4 separate regions of the Homo sapiens genome follow, and regions 1, 2 and 3 are each linked to region 4. The links are contacts of gene promoters, found by promoter capture Hi-C in blood cells and fetal thymus (Javierre and others, 2016). All regions are on one chromosome and are shown on one strand. The core of a region is centred on a gene start or on the middle of the fragment in contact, and the rest is flanking DNA. Distances in the headings are between cores, read along the strand shown. Region 1 overlaps PIK3R1 (phosphoinositide-3-kinase regulatory subunit 1). Region 2 overlaps PIK3R1 (phosphoinositide-3-kinase regulatory subunit 1). Region 3 overlaps PIK3R1 (phosphoinositide-3-kinase regulatory subunit 1). Region 4 holds the start of TAF9 (TATA-box binding protein associated factor 9).

The links. Contacts are between HindIII fragments. The CHiCAGO score rates a contact against its expected background, and 5 or more counts as called.
Region 1: a fragment that was not itself captured here is called in contact with the fragment with the promoter of TAF9 in region 4 in 1 of 17 cell types (total CD4 T cells); the score reaches 5.1 in total CD4 T cells.
Region 2: a fragment that was not itself captured here is called in contact with the fragment with the promoter of TAF9 in region 4 in 1 of 17 cell types (total CD4 T cells); the score reaches 8.6 in total CD4 T cells.
Region 3: a contact is called between a fragment that was not itself captured here and the fragment with the promoter of TAF9 in region 4, in 1 of 17 cell types (total B cells). The highest score is 7.1, in total B cells.

Annotation. Positions count from the first base shown.
Region 1 is chr5:68,293,340-68,296,382 of GRCh38, forward strand. It overlaps PIK3R1 (phosphoinositide-3-kinase regulatory subunit 1), which reads left to right. Exons shown (of 16, transcript NM_181523.3): 10 at 1-144; 11 at 370-495; 12 at 1,197-1,339; 13 at 1,809-1,985; 14 at 2,081-2,149; 15 at 2,832-3,002. Among named protein-coding and RNA genes, the nearest start is that of PIK3R1, 79 kb to the left of the region's middle. The HindIII fragment of the contact is 1,660 bases long and covers 656-2,315 here.
Region 2 is chr5:68,272,102-68,274,994 of GRCh38, forward strand. PIK3R1 (phosphoinositide-3-kinase regulatory subunit 1) reads left to right here. Exons shown (of 16, transcript NM_181523.3): 3 at 1,289-1,381; 4 at 1,838-1,912. Among named protein-coding and RNA genes, the nearest start is that of PIK3R1, 58 kb to the left of the region's middle. The HindIII fragment of the contact is 5,183 bases long and covers 1-2,893 here.
Region 3 is chr5:68,235,427-68,238,458 of GRCh38, forward strand. All of the region lies in intron 2 of PIK3R1 (phosphoinositide-3-kinase regulatory subunit 1), which reads left to right. Among named protein-coding and RNA genes, the nearest start is that of PIK3R1, 21 kb to the left of the region's middle. The HindIII fragment of the contact is 4,300 bases long and covers 1-3,032 here.
Region 4 is chr5:69,367,552-69,370,769 of GRCh38, forward strand. It overlaps TAF9 (TATA-box binding protein associated factor 9), which reads right to left and starts at 1,969. Exons shown (of 3, transcript NM_003187.5): 1 at 1,912-1,969. AK6 (adenylate kinase 6) reads right to left here and starts at 1,969. Exons shown (of 5, transcript NM_016283.5): 1 at 1,912-1,969. The coding sequence starts at 1,939. It overlaps RAD17 (RAD17 checkpoint clamp loader component), which reads left to right and starts at 2,267. Exons shown (of 19, transcript NM_133338.3): 1 at 2,267-2,382. RefSeq lists an enhancer at 2,521-3,070. The HindIII fragment of the contact is 4,867 bases long and covers 1-2,450 here.

The DNA of each region.
Region 1 (3,043 bases), core at 236-2,735, 1.1 Mb before region 4:
CGAGATGGGAAATATGGCTTCTCTGACCCATTAACCTTCAGTTCTGTGGTTGAATTAATAAACCACTACCGGAATGAATCTCTAGCTCAGTATAATCCCAAATTGGATGTGAAATTACTTTATCCAGTATCCAAATACCAACAGGTAATAAAAACTGAATGAATTATCCAGTTACGATGTTTAGACAAGATCCTTTTAATACTTAGAAAACATTTGAAGCAGATGAATTACATGTAATCAAGTCTAAAAAACTTGACACTCGTAATTACATAATTGCAATTTTAAAGATGTTTCCATGTCAGCTATTTTGTTAAACAATTGTTATTTGATTAAATACCTTATCCATTGAATTTATTTTAATCTTTCTAGGATCAAGTTGTCAAAGAAGATAATATTGAAGCTGTAGGGAAAAAATTACATGAATATAACACTCAGTTTCAAGAAAAAAGTCGAGAATATGATAGATTATATGAAGAATATACCCGCACATCCCAGGTGAGTTTTCTATGAAAATCAGATTAAAAAATAAGAGTTCTAAACTTTTAAAGACTAACATGGAAAAAAGAATTTAAAAGGTTGAGTTTTTACGAATGAGGTGGGGGTGAGAGCATTTATTTGTGAATCATTGTTGATTATTCTAGTGTAATATCTCTAAAGCTTTAAACCAAAAATTTTAAGTATCAGAATAATAAATTAAGTTCACGTGATAACTGAAGCAGTCACTGAGTTTCAAGTTGATTTAATTCGTGATAGAAGGATCCTGTTTAGATTGGAAGTTAGTAATAACTGGAAGTTTCACAGACTTGTCTAATCCCTGAAATGGAGATTTAGGCATTAATATATATCCTACCATGAAAAGGAAGGGCTATATACTGCTGTGCTTTTCTAGACCCTTATTCTTCACTGGTCACTCATGTATCTGGGAATGCCAGAGGGAACAGAAAACAACAGGGATGCTATAAACTACAATAGCTTTTAAGAAGATAAAAACTATAGGAAATTGCTACGCAATCATTTTTCATAGATTGAGAAAATTCTCCAGAGGAAATACTTGTTTCTGGGATACTGTTTTAATGGATTTTATGAATTTGAGTCCCACTCTGCTAATAATACAGATCAAATGTCCTGGTAGTGTCTTGCAGTAAGAGATTGTTCTATGAAAGGTATGACATTATCTTTTTAAAATTATGTTGCAGGAAATCCAAATGAAAAGGACAGCTATTGAAGCATTTAATGAAACCATAAAAATATTTGAAGAACAGTGCCAGACCCAAGAGCGGTACAGCAAAGAATACATAGAAAAGTTTAAACGTGAAGGCAATGAGAAAGAAATACAAAGGTTGGTGTTTCCCTTGTTCTTGTGCTAGAGATAACCAAAATCCTCTAAAACCATTTAAAGATGATCTCGCTTTCTGTGCTTTGAATGATCACGTGGACACAGGAAGGGGAATATCACTCTGGGGACTGTGGTGGGGTGGGGGGAGGAGGGAGGGATAGCATTGGGAGATATACCTAATGCTAGATGACGAGTTAGTGGGTGCGGCGCACCAGCATGGCACATGTATACATATGTAACTAACCTGCACAATGTGCACATGTACCCTAAAACTTAAAGTATAATAAAAATAAAAAAATAAAATAAAATAAAATATGTTGAGCCACTCCAAAAAAAAAAAAAAATGACAGGAAGAGAAGCCACGCTTTACCTAAGGAAAACTGCTGGGAAACCATAGTGAAACTTTTCATAAACTTTGGGGACCGTTCCTGATGTACCCAGATAATAACAAATACGTTTCTTTTGCCTGCAGGATTATGCATAATTATGATAAGTTGAAGTCTCGAATCAGTGAAATTATTGACAGTAGAAGAAGATTGGAAGAAGACTTGAAGAAGCAGGCAGCTGAGTATCGAGAAATTGACAAACGTATGAACAGCATTAAACCAGACCTTATCCAGCTGAGAAAGACGAGAGACCAATACTTGATGTAAGTATTTGAAATGGAATCCTATACATGAATAATTGGTGATTGCTACAATTCAGGATGAGTTAATGCGTTCTCTTTTCAAAACTGTTTTTCAGGTGGTTGACTCAAAAAGGTGTTCGGCAAAAGAAGTTGAACGAGTGGTTGGGCAATGAAAACACTGAAGAGTAAGTAGTTACTAAAGATGGTGATAGCAGAAGATTTTTCTCATTTTAGGAAAATGCATGACTTGCTTTGTTTTTAGAACAAGTGAGGAATTTTACTGAGTTTGGAACATCTTGTAGGAGAAAATGTATAAACTCAGTGCCATTATCCAGAATTTTAAAAAAAGAAAGCTTAGCTAAGGAGGACTAGGATTTATTTTTACTCATAATGCTGTGAAACAACTCTCTGTGTCCATAATGATGTCCCTGAACATCTGAAAAATCCCAAAATATTTTTGGAACAGTCAGAGAAAAAATAATTATGCTTAATATATTTTAAAGCTTAAGTATATACTTTGTTTGAATTAGTCAAAAACTGGCAATCTGCCTAGTCAATTTCCTGATCTAAACTGGATAAACGAGATTGTTTTAATACCTTCCACTCTGCCCAGGTACCTGAGTGTGGTTGCTTGAAAACAGAAATAGTACAGTTGATTGGTAACTCTTTGTCCTGGGAGGTTGCACTGGAGGCTGAATACCAGGAGAGGAAAACTCAGGTCGGGCAGAGGCAGGCATGTGATGGCCAGTCTGACTGGCTTGGTAGGGGCCAGGAGGGAAGTGACGGGGGTATGCCTAGGGAAGACAGCAAGGCAGGCTGATGGCTCCTGCACTCTTCATTTAGAAACTTTCTGTCCTGCCTGCCTAGCCAATATTCACTGGTGGAAGATGATGAAGATTTGCCCCATCATGATGAGAAGACATGGAATGTTGGAAGCAGCAACCGAAACAAAGCTGAAAACCTGTTGCGAGGGAAGCGAGATGGCACTTTTCTTGTCCGGGAGAGCAGTAAACAGGGCTGCTATGCCTGCTCTGTAGTGTATGTATCTCCAGCAAACTTTTCTTTACAACATCTCATGA
Region 2 (2,893 bases), core at 330-2,829, 1.1 Mb before region 4:
AAATTAGCTGGGAGTGATGCTGTGCACTGTAGTCGCAGCTACTCAGGAGGCTGGGGGGGGAGGATCACATGAACTCAGGAAGTTGAGGCTGCAGCGAGCCATGATCACGCCACTACACTCCAGCCTGGGTGACAGAGCGAGACCCTGTCTCAAAAAAAAAAAAAAAAAAGAAAAAGGAAATTTGTTTACCATAGTATATGGCTTCTAATAAAGAGCTATACTGGTAAAATCTCACAGAAACAAAATTGCAAATATTTAGTCTTTCTCAGATTATATAAATTATTCCTAGAAAAGACTGCAAGCAATGAGGCTAATAAACAGGTTGTACTTATATTTTCATAATGACTTTAATTTACCTTTATTTTGCAGTTTCACAAATTTAAGATGAATATATTTAGCTCCCTCTTCTGGCATAATTTGAGAATTTTTTTGCTTACAATGGTCTTATTTATTTTTTTTGGACTGAGAATAAGGTTATCAATGTAATGTTGAAGAATGTTATTTATGAGTGTCATCCAGTTAGATTTTTTGGTATCATTGTAAATGGTTAAAACGCATGCAAAAAGTTTACGAAAACACCACATTTTAAAAACTACTAATTGACCAAAAAATACATAAACAAAGGCTTTGACAAAGTTATACAGAAATTTATTTTGATATCAAGTGGGCAGTGATCATTCATATTGGCTTCTGGATCTGAGACTCAGCCCATACCTGGCATTTGTGAGGCTTGGGGCAAGAATGCAAAAAGAGGCCCAAGTACCCTGTGCCTAAGTATTTTTGTTATAAATCATGTCAACTGTTCAATAAAATCTGTCCCATCCTTTCTAGGCAGTTATTTCTTCCTAATGACCAGGAGGAGAGATCTGAATTCAGGTTCTTGGGCTCCTGAGAGTTCTGCCCTAGAGTGTGGTATTATGGGGAGAGCTGGATCCTGGTTCATCCCTGGCTTCTCCCTGCACATCCAAACTCCCATCCATCCTGCCACTCCCCCCACCTTTGGGGCCCAGGGGTGTACCTAGACAGGGGGGTTTGTCCTGGGGAGGGTGGACCTGGGGGAAAGGCCATAAGAGGCCATTTAGCAGGAAATCCTGGAGCATTACTCTGAGTAGACCCTAGGTGAGAAGCAGTGGGCATATCACTTTGGCCTGGAAAGTGCAAAAGCCCAGAGCAGGGGTTCTTCTTGCTCGGGCCTGATGTAATTAAATTATTTTGTACGTCCTTCATTGTGGTCTAATGCATTCAACTATCCAAATTAAATACAATGGTGGGATTTTGTTGTTTGCAGCTTTGACTCTCCCGGATCTTGCAGAGCAGTTTGCCCCTCCTGACATTGCCCCGCCTCTTCTTATCAAGCTCGTGGAAGCCATTGAAAAGAAAGGTAACCAGACTGCTAGAGGGCATCAGTTCCTTTGTTCTACCCTTATTTCATGGCTCTTATTATTTGTCTCTTGTGCATTCATTAAGTAAATTTCCTACTACCAGCTATGTCCAGATACTCTGCTGGACACTCAAACTGTTTGGGGCTAAGTACTGGGAAAAATGTCTCAGTCTATAATTTCTAACTCTAGATTATCATGTAGTTTCCATATGGAAACTATTAAATTCTTCATAATTTAATAAATATGATTAACTTTCTTCTTAGAGGCCAGATGGTTTTGCCAAAATTATCAACATGCCAGGTAAGATTAATAGTAGGAGTTGACTTCCAAGAATATTTGGTACACATCTAGAACAGATACTGGATGGAAACTGGAATGTCTCTGGCAGCAGCCTCACAGGTTCTCCAGAGAGCTGTGTTTTGCATACATGGTCTGTGGTCTGTTTTGTGTCCTAGGTCTGGAATGTTCAACTCTATACAGAACACAGAGCTCCAGCAACCTGGCAGAATTACGACAGCTTCTTGATTGTGGTGAGTGTCACAGAGCTAGAAATGCAAATGGGAAAGACAGGTCTTGGCTTTCTGTTTCAGGTAATGCACACACACAAAATTGAATTTAATCTATGCAGTGTTCTAAATTTAAAGGGAACTCAAATCATGTACAGTTCTCCCTGCCCTGTTATGGTAACAGTGCAAACCTTTGAAATTTTTCTCCTGAGTTGGGCTGCAAGTGTGTGCACGCCTCCCTGCAGGCATGTTGGTCATCATCATAGCCATCAGGCCCTGGGTCCTGCAGAGGAGAGAAACCACCTCTTGGTGTTTCTCTCGCTCTGTGTATCTACCATCTTTCCTTGACCCTGAATTTGGCTACATCTAATTCATCTGAATCAATTAAAAAATATTTTTAAGCCTATGTCACTTAAGAAATGTCTCTTCTGACATCCTTTTTCTTTTATTACCTTTCCCTTCCATTTTCCTTTTCCGTTTCCCTTTCTTTCTGGCTTGCCTTCTTTCTTTTTTTGTGTTGAGTGCATTAAGTAACATCACGATATTGTTATGTTCAGTGGTGTGCTGATAAACCAACTCTCTAGGAAGAAAAAGGCCCTGGTTTGTAGCATCTGCCCATTTTTGTGGCATGAATATTCCCACCGGGGCTTATTTCAAGCTAACCAACATGATGTCACTGGATGTGGAATTGGGAAGAATTGAGGACAGTTTGTTAAATAACACTAATTAATTTAGCCAAGAGGGCTTTAGTACCCCAAACACCCACTCCCTCCTTTGGCATAGATGAAAAACTACAAATCAATTTACTTGCCAGCATTCCAGCAAGTCATCTTCTTATAAATCTTTCAAGATCCTTCATTCCCTCATAACGCTTAAAAAAATTATATACTGCCTCACATCATTTTAACTGAAATTAGGTGTTTAAGCCAAAAAGAGTGAAACTCAGTTTTGGACTCCGTCAGAGGTATAATTGTACAAAGAATGCCCACATGACAGTAAATGAGA
Region 3 (3,032 bases), core at 351-2,850, 1.1 Mb before region 4:
AATAAATAAATAAATAAATAATTTTCAATGCTTAAGAATTTTTTATCAGTAAACAGTTCATTTGAATTTTTTTTTGCATTCTTGTTTCCCAACTATAGAAACATAGCTGAATATTTGTGGCATCATTAATGCATAATTTCAAAGCATTTTACACATTGTTAATTAAATCTCACCATGTTCTTTCAGGTAGCAAAAAGTAAGTTTATTTTTGATTCAGAAGTATTTGAAGAAGTTAGAACAAGATGATTTTATTGCTAAATAATAAGGAATATCTGTGGAGTACCAAGGAATGAGATATAATGAATTTGGTTAGAGTATATCAAAGTACATATTATAGTTTTTGTCTTACACTTCCCTGTGGGTCTGTTTAACTATTGAAAATGTCTTCTTCAAAATGAACCTTAAACATTTGCAAACTTACTCTTTGCTAATTATTCTGCCAGGCATTTTTTTTTTTCTTTTTTTTTTGAATCTTGCTCTGTTGCCCAGGCTGGAGTGCAGTGGCTCAATCTCAGCTGACTGCAACCTCTGCCTCCTGGGTTCAAGCAGTTCTCCAGCCACAGCCTCCCAAGTAGCTGGGACTACAGGCACATGCTGCCACGCCTGGCTAATTTTTGTATTTTTAGTAGAGACAGGGTTTCACCATATTGGTCAGGCTGGTCTCGAACTCCTAACCTCAGGTGATCCACCCACCTCGGCCTCCTAAACTGGTGGGATTACCAGCGCGAGCCACCACGCTGGCCCTGCCAGGCATTTTATAGACATTTTTCATTTGACGCTCACAACCACCCTGCAAAGATGGCATATTATAACCTTTTTTTGTTTGTTTGTTTGTTTTTTTGAGATGGAGTCTCGCTCTGTCGCCCGGGCTGGAGAGCAGTGGCACGATCTCGGCTCACTGCAAGCTCCGCCTCCTGGGTTCACGCCATTCTCCTGTCTCAGCCTCCCGAGTAGCTGGGACTACAGGCACCTGCCACCACGCCCGTCTAATTTTTTGTATTTTTTGTAGAGACGGGGTTTCACTGTGTTAGCCAGGATGGTCTCGATCTCTTGACCTTGTGATCCGCCCACCTCGGCCTCCCAAAGTGCTGGGATTGCAGGCATGAGCCACCACGCCTGGCCCTATAACCGTTTTTGAGATTTAAAAACTGAAGGTCATGTGATTGTGTAAATATTTAAAAAGTGATCATATTAAAAAATATCATAGTGATGGCACATTGATAAGATTCAAGAACATTTTGGGCAAGGCAGGCAGTCATGAGGATCTCCTTAAGCAGTCTCTTGTGAAGTGATCGGTAACTGAATTTTGCTTTTTGGGTGGTCTTCAATTATGTCTGCTTTATCTGTTAGGTTTCACTAGCTATTACATTCATGCAACTCCAGAAATTTACCTCCAATTTATATGTGACTTACAACATTTTCTTATGTCTGGTAAATATTTGAAAGGATTGAATTACAAAGAGACGGATAAGGCCATGAAGCTAAGACAAAGTTTTGGGTATGTGCATGTAAATGCAATTTTTCTCAGGAAGAAATACACCATGATCAGATAACTCAAAAGTTTTATAACCTTGATAAATAGATTTACCTTCGTTTCTGTTGTTTTTGAAGAAGTTAAATGTCTGCTTTAAATGTTTCCCTGAGTTTCAAGTTTTCTTATTTCAGACTCATAATTATATCATTTTGATTAAAATGGAGCACAGACTGGAGTTATTACTTGCTTAAAAGCCAAAAACTTGAGGGTATCCAGCATAAGAATTGTGTGTTTTGGTCTGTGGATAGCAGCTGCTTGAAGTCCATAAAAACAAGAAACCTGAAGTTGATTCAGATGAATCTGAAGTCTTGTACCTGAATTATGTCAAGGTTAGCAGTAAATGCCATTTAAAAAGACTGAGTACAAATTGCCAAATTCCTTTGAATGCCAAACCATATTTCTCAGGAAAGTTGGCCACTGCCAAATTTATAACATTTGTGTTTCTGTTACCTGAATTCCAAGGGCAGAGGGGTGATTGAGGGGGTAAGGGAAAGGCACAGGTGAATTTTATTTTCAGATGTCTAATAGGACAGTGTGACATTGCCCAGAGATAGTCTCTCAAAGGTAGTGAGTGCCAGCAGAACTTCTCGAATGCGAAGTTGAGAAATTTTACTTATTTACTTATTTTCCCATTGAAAAAAAAAAAAAAAACTTTAAATGTTTTCTGAGTTAAAAAGGCCTCTGACTGGTAGTCCTGACACAGCTTCTTGAGAGTCTCCGAGAGAGCCTCTTCTCAGTACAATTCCTAAGAAGATAGGAAGAAAAAAAAAAATATTCTTAACACATAAAACTAGAATTAGTGGGAAGAAATGCCTACTGTAAACTCAACAGAACCGGGGTTAAAAAATATAGGATAAGTTTTGACTACCTAAAAGTAGCAGGGCAGACCCATCTCTTCCCTAACTCTGTCCATAATTCAGAAAGGGCCCAGGGAACTGTCCTCAGGAATGCTCTTCCCCCCTCTTCCTTGTCCTCTCCGACAGAGCCTTTCTAATCAGTAGGAGGTCACAACTTAGAAAATAACCAGAGAGAGCTGGAATGGTAAGTTAGGGGCTATTACTGTTATATTCTGAGAATCCTGATCCATGAAAATAAAGTGCTGAAGGTGGGGTAGAGTTAGAAAGACCTGTGTTCACTGAGGGTTTTGAGTATTACAGGCTCTCCATCACTCAGAGCATCAGAAAGTCAGGCGGTGAACGCAGGAGATTTTTCTCTCAGGCTAACCAAAACCATGTTGAAATGAAAACCACCTTGGAACTGGCCTTTTCATCTCAGACTGCCAAATAACTAGCACCCAAGTGGATCCCTTAGCTCAGAGCAGTCACCAGGCATGGGTAGGTCTTTCCTTGTTTAGTGATAAACAGGAAAAACCTAACCGAGCCTACTGAACCATGTCCATCTATAAAAGAAAAAGGGAGATCATACTGGAGATTTGAAAGAAGAGTAGACCTCCAGAACTGATTGATTATAATTTATTTCTGTTATAGTATTTCCACTT
Region 4 (3,218 bases), core at 719-3,218:
TTATTTACCTTTTTCTTTTTTTAAAGACAAGATATCTCTTTGTTACCTAGGCTGGAGTGCAGTGGAACTTGGCTCACTAGAGCCTTTACCTCCTGGGCTCAAGCAATCCTCCCATCTCAGCCTGTCCGGTAGCTAGGACCACAGGTATGCACCACCATGCCCTGGTTAATTTTTGTAGAGACGGGGTTTGGCTATGTTGCTTAGGCTAAGCTCAAACTCCTGAGCTCAAGCGATCTCCCCACCTCCACCTCCCAAAGTGCTGGGATTTACAGGCATGAGCCACCCACCTGGCCTATTTGCTTTAACTTATAAAGATTTAAAAACTGTTCATGGCCACGTGTGGTGGCTCGCGCGTGTAATCCCAGCAATTTGGGAGGAGAAGGCGGGAGGATCGCTTAAGCGCAGGAGTTCGAGACCAGCCTGGCCAACATAATGAGACTCTGTCTCAAACAAAAACAAAAACAAGAACAAAAACAAAACTGTTCATGTTAAAATTAAGCAGTCTGAAAATTACCTCTACTGACCCCTTGCGCCCTTCCCTAGAGATAACCACTGTAAACCAGTTTCCTTTCCCAAAGAAACCCTATTTATGTTTGCATGTAAATGTACATATATGTACATACTCTTTGTTATATAAATACAACACATATTCCCTTTTACATAAATGACAATACTATATACATTGTTCTTTACCTTCCCCTTCTGATACCTATTAAAATTACATTTCAAGATCATCAAATTCATAATTTTCAGCTATTCAGATTTAACATCCCTGAAATTAAACTTAAGCATAAAGATAACAGGGATAATCCAGTTCCCATACCCAGGAGAATAACGGTCACCTCAAGTCCACTATAATACACCAAGTCTGAACCCTGGACTCAACATGTTTTCAATAAAATGTTCACTTTAAAGTTTTGACAATGACTTAATAACCAGGGCACTATGTTTGATCCATGCAAAAAGATGTAAAATCTTCCGCTTAAGGAATCTAAAATTCTAAACGTTATTTGTGGGGTGGTTAATCTGCACCTCTCAGAAACAGACATGTCTTGTGCGCTGCCAACAATTTTACCTTTGGGTGAATGATGTAACTTTACTGTTCCCACAAAGAGTCTTAATTTTTCTGTACCTTGCAATAAAATCTACATGCATTAGATTTTTCCACGAATGGCCTACAATTTGATAAACACTTTCAGGACTAAACGGCTAGCAAAAATATTCGTTAAAGTCGTTATGCAGCATTTTAATTCCCTTCACTGATAACATGCACCCTGAGTATGGCTTCAAAGACCCACTCCTACGCGAGAAACGACCCGAAATGCTCTATATGCCTTCCTTTTAAGGGGCGGGGGGATCCTTTGATGTAACTCAACAAAAGCATACAGCAATTTCGTCACGTCACAAACATCTGAACTCGTTTACCGAAATCTAATCTGAGGCGTTTATCAGAAGCAAAGAAAAAATAAAATACGGCCCACGGAGGCCTAAGGAGTGAGGCATCCACCATTAATGACTCTACCGGGAAGCAGATATGGCCTTACGTTATTTCGCTAAAAATCCCAAGGCCAACCCTGCCAAAGAATCAACAACCCATTTTACAAACGAAATACCAGATTCAGAAAGACTAAGCAGGTTGCCAAGCTGGAGAGCTGGATCTGCCGACCTCTCTCCACCCCCCCCCGCCCCCCCCCGGAGCCTCAGGCCAACGGAATTAACGTTCCGCGTCCCCTCCCTCGCCTCCCGCAACGCCCGCGAGGGTCGGCTCCCGGGGCGCTGACAACCGCCTCGTGGCCCTCGGCCGGCCTCTGAAGAGGGCAGTGAGGGGCCCCCACCTGGGCGCCCGATGCCCAGAGCACTCTGCGCCCCCAGCCTGCCCCAGCCCAGTCCCTCCCGGCCGCGCGCCCTGACCGGTGAGCAGGATGTTCGGAAGCAACATGGTCCCCGCCGCGACGGCTTCGGGCGCCTCGCTCACGTGCCCTTTGCTCTACAGGGAGGAGCCGGAAGGGGCGGGCGGCAGCAAAAGCCCACGGCCCCAAAGGCCCCGAAGCCCACCGCGGCGCCCCTAGCCTGCCCCGGCGGCCCAGCCGCGGCCCACTGGTTACCTGGCTTTCGATGACACATTTCCGTCGCAAAGTTGGAGGGTGGGCATAACTCGGGTCGGTACTTCGGGTCAGGCAGTGCGCTGGATGCCTAAGTCACACACTCCTTCGGTGGTCCCCGCCCTTCGCTTGCGCCGACCAGTCTGGAAGGTCCCCGGGAGGCCGTACCTCCGAGAGGCTCGGCGTTGAGCCCGGGTAGGGCCAGGTGGCTGCCCTTTCACCTAGGGTAGTCCCTGGTCGCCTCCGCTCTTCGCCTAAAAGGGGATGCAGCTCCGGGAAAGTAAGGCCGCCGCGGTTGCGGCTATATTATGTATATGTCTTAGAGACGTGAGTCTATCTCTGCCTTCAAGCTTTCCTGGGCTCTCGTCGCTCCTCCTCCCGACCCGCCCATCCCATCTGGGGATGAGAAGATTGAGGGTGCAGAGCCCTGTCCTGCAGCGGGGATTTGCGAGCTCAACCCGGCACCCCACTGATTACAGGATTACGTTGGACGAATATTTGAGCTTAGTATTCCCTGTTCACTGTGTGGGGTGGTGGTGGGTCGGCTAGGAATAGTCTTGAAGGTCTACCTCTGACATCTCATTTCAGTAACCTCGCATCTTCAGGGACAGTTATCTGCTTTTTAAAGGAGGTAATTGTCAATCTTGTTTTCAAGAGTGAATAGAGACCTGACCGTGACAACAGTCTGCACCTTTTTTTGTTTGTTTGTTTGTTTTTGTTTTGTTTTGAGACGGAGTCTCACTCTTGTCGCCCAGGCTGGAGTGCAACCTCCGCCTCCTGGGTTCAAGTGATTCTCCTGCCTTAGCCTCCAGAGTAGCTGGGATTACAGGCGCCCACCACCACGCCCGGCTAATTTTTGCATTTTTAATAGAGACGGGGTTTCACCATGTTTTGGCCAGGCTGGTCTCAAACTCCTGACCTCAGATGATCCGCCCGCCTCGTCCTCCCACGGTGCTGGGATTACAGGCATGAGCCACCGCGTCCGGCCCCTGGTCTGCATCTTTTATTTCGAGCTACAAACTATATTTACTCAAATAGGTGTTTTTTTTCCACCTGTATACCTTTTGAAACGTCACAGTCTCTAATCGTGAACGATTTGGGGCGGAGGGCTGAACA